Regions from separate parts of the Homo sapiens genome. Here region 2 is linked to region 1. Evidence: promoter capture Hi-C in human tissues and cell types (Jung and others, 2019). All regions are on one chromosome and are shown on one strand. The core of a region is centred on a gene start or on the middle of the fragment in contact, and the rest is flanking DNA. Distances in the headings are between cores, read along the strand shown. Region 1 holds the start of CHURC1-FNTB (CHURC1-FNTB readthrough). Region 2 overlaps ZBTB1 (zinc finger and BTB domain containing 1).

Region 1 (2,963 bases), core at 296-2,795:
AACTGGTGTGCTTTGAAATGGTTATTAATCTCTTCTTTAAGGAATCTGGATCCCAGAGTCTCCCAGGCTCCCCAATCTTTCTTCCCTGACATGACAGCAATAAAGCAGGGCTGAGGGAGGATGTTGATGTTCCCATTGGGGTAGAGGAGTGTGATAAAGACGCATTGTTCAGAAACAGAGACAAACTTCGGAGATTCGTCTGCAAGTTAATTAGGTCGTTGCGAATAAATAAGATGCTTTCAATACAGAGAGAAAGGATGAGGCGGGGCAACAAGCACAAGCATTTTGAGACCCACAGGATTGGGAAATGATGCAGGAACAACTGACCTGGCCATTTTTCTTTCTTTCTTTCTTTTCTTGGAAGCACATATGTTTATTGGTTTTTTAATCTGTGAACCAATAGGTCATTTATAAATGGATGTGCAAATCTGAAATCAAAATATCTGCAGTCAATTCAATTAGATAATTTTTGAAATCTATTTATTTTTAATATACTTTAAGTTCTAGGGTACATGTGCACAACGTGCAGATTTGTTACCTATGTATAGATATGCCATGTTGGTGTGCTGCACACATTAACTCGTCATTTACATTAAGTATATCTCCTAATGCTATCCCTCCCCCCTCCCCCCACCCCACGACAGGCCCCGGTGTGTGGTGTTCCCCACCCTGTGTCCAAGTGTTCTCATTGTTCAATTCCCACCTATGAGTGAGAACATGCGGTGTTTGGTTTTCTGTCCTTGCGATAGTTTGCTCAGAATGACGGTTTCCAGCTTCATCCGTGTCCCTACAAAGGACATGAACTCATCCTTTTTTATGGCTGCATAGTATTCCATGGTATATATGTGCCACATTTTCTTAATCCAGTCTATCATTGATGGACATTTGCATTGGTTCCAAGTCTTTGGTATTCTGAATAGTGCCACAATAAACATACATGTGCATGTGTCTTTATAGCAGCATGATTTATAATCCTTTGGGTATATACCCAGTAATGGGATGGCTGATGACCTGGCCATTTTTCTATTTACATAGTGCTTGCCCGCCACTGAGGTGCTTCTGTGACACCTGAGAGAGATAGAAATACGTTCCTCGTTGCTATGTCCTCCAGAGGACTCTGGAATGACCAATTATTACTAATATTTTAAGTGTTTTTTTAGGAGATTTTCTGCAGCACTCTGAGTGTCTCTTCCCAAACACTTCGGTTACTGTTTATTCACCTGCTGAGATCTGGTCTCTTATTCACTCTCATTGCCTTAAGAAATGGTACAGAAATGTATTCATTAACATTTCAGATTTGTATATGCGGTAGCGAGAAATAATTCCCTTTCTTGTGTGTCGTGATTTGCCTTTCTTGTCAGCCTAAGCTCAGGAAGGTGTCTGTGAGAACTTCGCTCAGCCCAAGATCCCTTTCCCTTCCCGTCACATCTGTTAGCGCACAAGATTTCTTCGTCTGTCTCCAAAGGTTTCTGAAGCCCCACCCTTTGCCCACGCACGGTGCCAAGGAGACTGTGCCCTGCCTTGACAACAGTTGCTAAGGGGCGGAGACTTCGGCTCGGTTCCCGAGACGGAATACCCAGGAGTCGAGTACTTGGGCGCATGCGGCAACCGTATCTCAGTTCTCGCGAGGTTTCGTCTTCCCGGAAGCGTTGGAGGACATTCCCTGTTGACTGCGTCGCGATGTGTGGCGACTGTGTGGAGAAGGAATATCCCAACCGGGTGAGCGACTGGGCGCTCCCTTGGCCCGCGGGCGGCCCCCGAGGTGTCTCATATCCAAGGCTGGCCTTCCCAGAGAGGCCGTACGTGGGGCGGACTCGGCCGCACTGCCGGTCCCGGTGACCCAGTAGCGGTATTTAGGCACACCAGGGATGGCCTGTGGCGGTCTGCACCTCTGGTACCCGCCCTGGCGGCTGACCTCAGTTGTAGTGGCCGTTCTCTTGAGCTCCAAGGAGCAACAGAGGAACCCCACCACCACCACAACCCCCGTCGACAACCGAGGGACTCCCCCACCCCCACTTCCGGTCTCATCCTCAAGCTCGATTTGATGAAGTACAATTTTCTTACCGAATTCTAGCGCTGGAGGGGACCTCTGTGGTCATCTGTTCTAACACTTTTGCAGATGAAGAAACCGATGCCCAGAGAGGGGAAATCACTTGCCCAAGTTCACATTCTAGTTGCATGGATGAGAGCCAGGACTAGAATTTAGGTTTCCTGCCTGTTACCGCCTTCTGAATCTCAGTTACTTTCAGGTTCAGGAGTTTGCAAAGCTTGTCTATTCTCATTCATTCAAGGCATCCTTGTTGAACATTTATATATGTGTAGTTAGATTACTTTGCTAGGCCAGAAAGGGATTATTTCTCCTCTCTTTGAGACAGGGTGCTGCTGTTGCCCAGGCTGGTCTCAAATTCCTGGGATCAAGTGATCCTCCCGCCTTGGCCTCCGAAAGTGCTGGGATTACTGGCATGAGCCACCACGTCCAGCTGGATTATTTGTTTCAGAGAAGAAATTAAAAGGCACCTTTGGTGCTGCCTAACAGCTTACAGTTTTGGGGAGTATGTGACTAACAAAAAATGAGTAGCTCAGTTCAGAAATGCTATTCAAGTTTAGGGAAAGGGGAGGGCAATAGGGGATAGTGCTGTTCTCCCCTGAGAAAAGGTGGACATCATCTAAGACTTGAAGGACAGTTGTAATTAGGGTAGAAAAGAAGGTGAGGAGCTGGAGGATGGGGGAAAATTACAGAAATGGAATTTGTGCATTGGTTGGGAAGGAGGGAGAAAGTCTCTGTAGTTCCTTATGTCTTAGTATCTTATGGGTAATACTTAGGCTTTTGAGTAGCATGTATAACAGTATGAATTCTCCTGTAGTACAACTACTTTGAAAAAGCGGGTGAGCCTTATAAAATACAGACATGACCCAGTGATTCCCATTCTAGAAAAATGCATGTGTATATGCTTCTGAAGACT
Region 2 (2,963 bases), core at 285-2,784, 400 kb before region 1:
TTATTTTTATAGATGGCAGAATCTTTAAGGTCATGATCTTGGGCTTAGAGTCATATTGCCTGTGTTCTAATCCCATGAAGTCCTCTCTTTGTGATATTACAAAGGTTATATAACACTGTATGCCTCTGTTATTTAATCTTGAAAATGAGTCTTATAGCAGCATCTACTTTGTAGGGTTTGTTACGAGGATTAAATGCTAAAATGATACTTATATATGCATACATACACATAAAATGATACCTATATATGGATACATACACAGATATGCACACATACACACATACATGTATATACATACATGTATATATGCAATATATGTGTGCATATCTCACACATATATATTGCATATATCCATATATATCCATATGTGTATATGTGTAATGTATCTGTGAGAGATATATATACATCTCCCTATACATCTGCCTGGAATAGAGCCTGGCATATAGTGAGACATAACAAATGTTAGCTATTCATATTATTATTGTATTACAGTTGTCATTTACTCTACTTTGATAACCTTCATCTACCAGTCCAGTAAAGCAAATCTACCTTCTGTCCTGTTACATTTCCAGCCAAGCTGCTGTGTACCCTCCTCAATTATTTACATACACATCTATATAAATACTCGAAATGCCTCACCCTTGCTTTCTGTTTATCCTACTCATTCATCAAGGCTTTACTCAAATCCTACATCCTTCCTAAAGCCTACTATTTTGGTATAATTAACGCTTTTCTTCTAAACTCTTGCTGAACTTTATTCAATATAGTTTATTTTTATTTTTATTTTTATGTTTGAGATGGAGTCTTGCTCTGTTGCCCAGGCTGGAGTGCAGTGGCTCAATCTCAGTTCACTGCAACCTCTGCCTCCAGGTTCAAGCGATTCTCCTGCCTCAGCCCCCCAAGTAGCTGGGATTACAGGCATCCACTATCATGCCCGGCTGATTTTTGTATTTTTGTAGAGACAGAGTTTCACCATGTTGGTCAGGCTGGTCTTGAACTCCTGACCTCAGGTGATCCACCCACCTCAGCCTCCCAAAGTGCTGGGATTACAGGTATGAGCCACCGCACCGGCCTCAATATAGTTTATTAAACTCCTCAAATTGTTTCTTGGTTTCAAATTTAATCCCTCATATACAGTTATCTCTATTGTACACCATCCTTCTCCACCCTCCATTTCAATGCTCTATCCAGTGTTAGGAACATTATGAGTATTCAATAGATTCTGATATTCTGATGTTAAAATGTAAGAATCCTTTCATTACATTTTAGACTTTTAAAATACTCTGTAATCCTCAAATCCATATGCATACATACATTCAACCTATAAGACATAGAAATAGGTAAAAGGAAACATATATACATAAATCTTCCTTGAGATCCAGAGGTAATTGTAAGTCAGAGATTGGGGTGCTGAATTGGGACTGTGATGCTAGGCTCTCTAGACTTTCACTGAGGCTAAGCGAATCATCTTCAAATGCCTCATTGGTGCTGCAAGTCTGTGACACAATTTAGAGGGTGATTATTTGCCTCACAGAAACACTTTAAAATTCCTTTAAGTTACTTCTTTATTCATTGGATATGCTTATTTATAGACCCTTAAATTATCATTTACCAAGGCTGGAGCAAGAGAAACTTCCAGCAAAACTGTTATTTCCAATTTGAGAGATCTAGCAATGGAGGAAAAATATTTCTGAAATCTTACTATGTCAGTGAGAAATTTACTGAAATAGCTTACACAGTATAACTTAGGGAACACATCTATTGAATAAGACTAGATTGACATGTATGGATAAAGCCACATTACAGATAAAGAATTCAGATTGGGGTAATCACTTGCTCAATAGCATCCAACCAACAAACCCTGTATTAAGGACTCATGCCCTGTCCTTGTTTAGTGTTCTTTCCGGAAGACCATACTGTATAGTACCAAGGAAGTGCCATATATAGAGGTTATTACTATCTGGGTGGTCAGGAGTCCTTAGTCCTAGTATGTGCTTCAGCACAGTTAACTATACCCTGATACATTAAAAACCATGTATCTTTGCCTTCTATGGAATAAGAATGTTAGACTAGATTAGATCTCTCTAAGCTCTAAAAATGTATGATTAAATTACTTAATATGCTTAATGTGCTTGGTGACTGTTTTTAAACTTGAGATGAGCCGTTAAACTTTTTCAGACTAAAATTTTAAAAATCCAGTATAAAACTTTTTGGATCACCTAACTCCTTAATTCTTGCTAGAGTTCTGCACAGTGGGTATCCTTCTAGCCTTAGTGTAACTCTTGGCATTATATAGCTTGTTTTCCTTATCCAAATGACATTAAGTCCTTTGAGTCACATTGGAGGTTCTGCTCTCAGACCTGAGCCCTTGACTTCTAGTTGTGCTAAACTTGTCCTACCAGTGATGCAGCTAGTAGTACAAACAAAAGCAATCACAGATTTCAGTCGTAAAAACAAGAACAGCTGAAATACAAGCTGTCCATTTACTTAAAACCTTTTATAGGCTTTACTAGAACATAAAGTTCATTAACTTTTTTTGGCAGCATTAATAAAGAGGTCAAAAAAATGAAAAAAGAGCAAACTCCTCTTGGAATTTGAGTGAAATTATAATTTAATGAAAGTGAATGCCTCATAATTTTTTTTTTTTTTTTTTGAGATGGAGTCTTGCTCTGTCGCCCAGGCTGGAGTGCAGTGGCACAGTCTTGGCTCACTGTAAGCTCCGCCTCCCGAGTTCCCGCCATTCTCCCGCCTCAGCCTCCCAAGTAGCTGGGAATACAGGTGCCTGCCACCACGCCCGGCTAATTTTTTGTATTTTTAGTAGAGACAGGGTTTCACTGTGTTAGCCAGGATGGCTCGATTTCCTGACCTTGTGATCCACCCGCCTCCGCCTCCCAAAGTGCTGGGATTACAGGCGTGAGCCACGGTGCCCGGCCTCAAAAATTTTTAATGAAAAAATTATCTTC

What was found. The method cuts DNA at HindIII sites, captures the fragments that hold promoters and counts their contacts. A contact is called where the count stands out against the background at its distance.
Region 2: a contact is called between a fragment that was not itself captured here and the fragment with the promoter of CHURC1-FNTB in region 1, in 1 of the 25 tissues and cell types used here (heart left ventricle).

What each region holds. Positions count from the first base shown.
Region 1 is chr14:64,912,816-64,915,778 of GRCh38, forward strand. It overlaps CHURC1-FNTB (CHURC1-FNTB readthrough), which reads left to right and starts at 1,546. Exons shown (of 14, transcript NM_001202559.1): 1 at 1,546-1,719. The coding sequence starts at 1,600. It overlaps CHURC1 (churchill domain containing 1), which reads left to right and starts at 1,640. Exons shown (of 4, transcript NM_001386928.1): 1 at 1,640-1,719. The coding sequence starts at 1,681. RefSeq lists enhancers at 1,440-1,489, 1,640-1,909. The HindIII fragment of the contact is 18,830 bases long and covers 1-2,963 here.
Region 2 is chr14:64,512,886-64,515,848 of GRCh38, forward strand. All of the region lies in intron 1 of ZBTB1 (zinc finger and BTB domain containing 1), which reads left to right. It overlaps HSPA2-AS1 (HSPA2 and ZBTB1 antisense RNA 1), which reads right to left. Exons shown (of 4, transcript NR_110550.1): 4 at 1,266-1,496. Among named protein-coding and RNA genes, the nearest start is that of ZBTB1, 9.6 kb to the left of the region's middle. The HindIII fragment of the contact is 3,390 bases long and covers 1-2,963 here.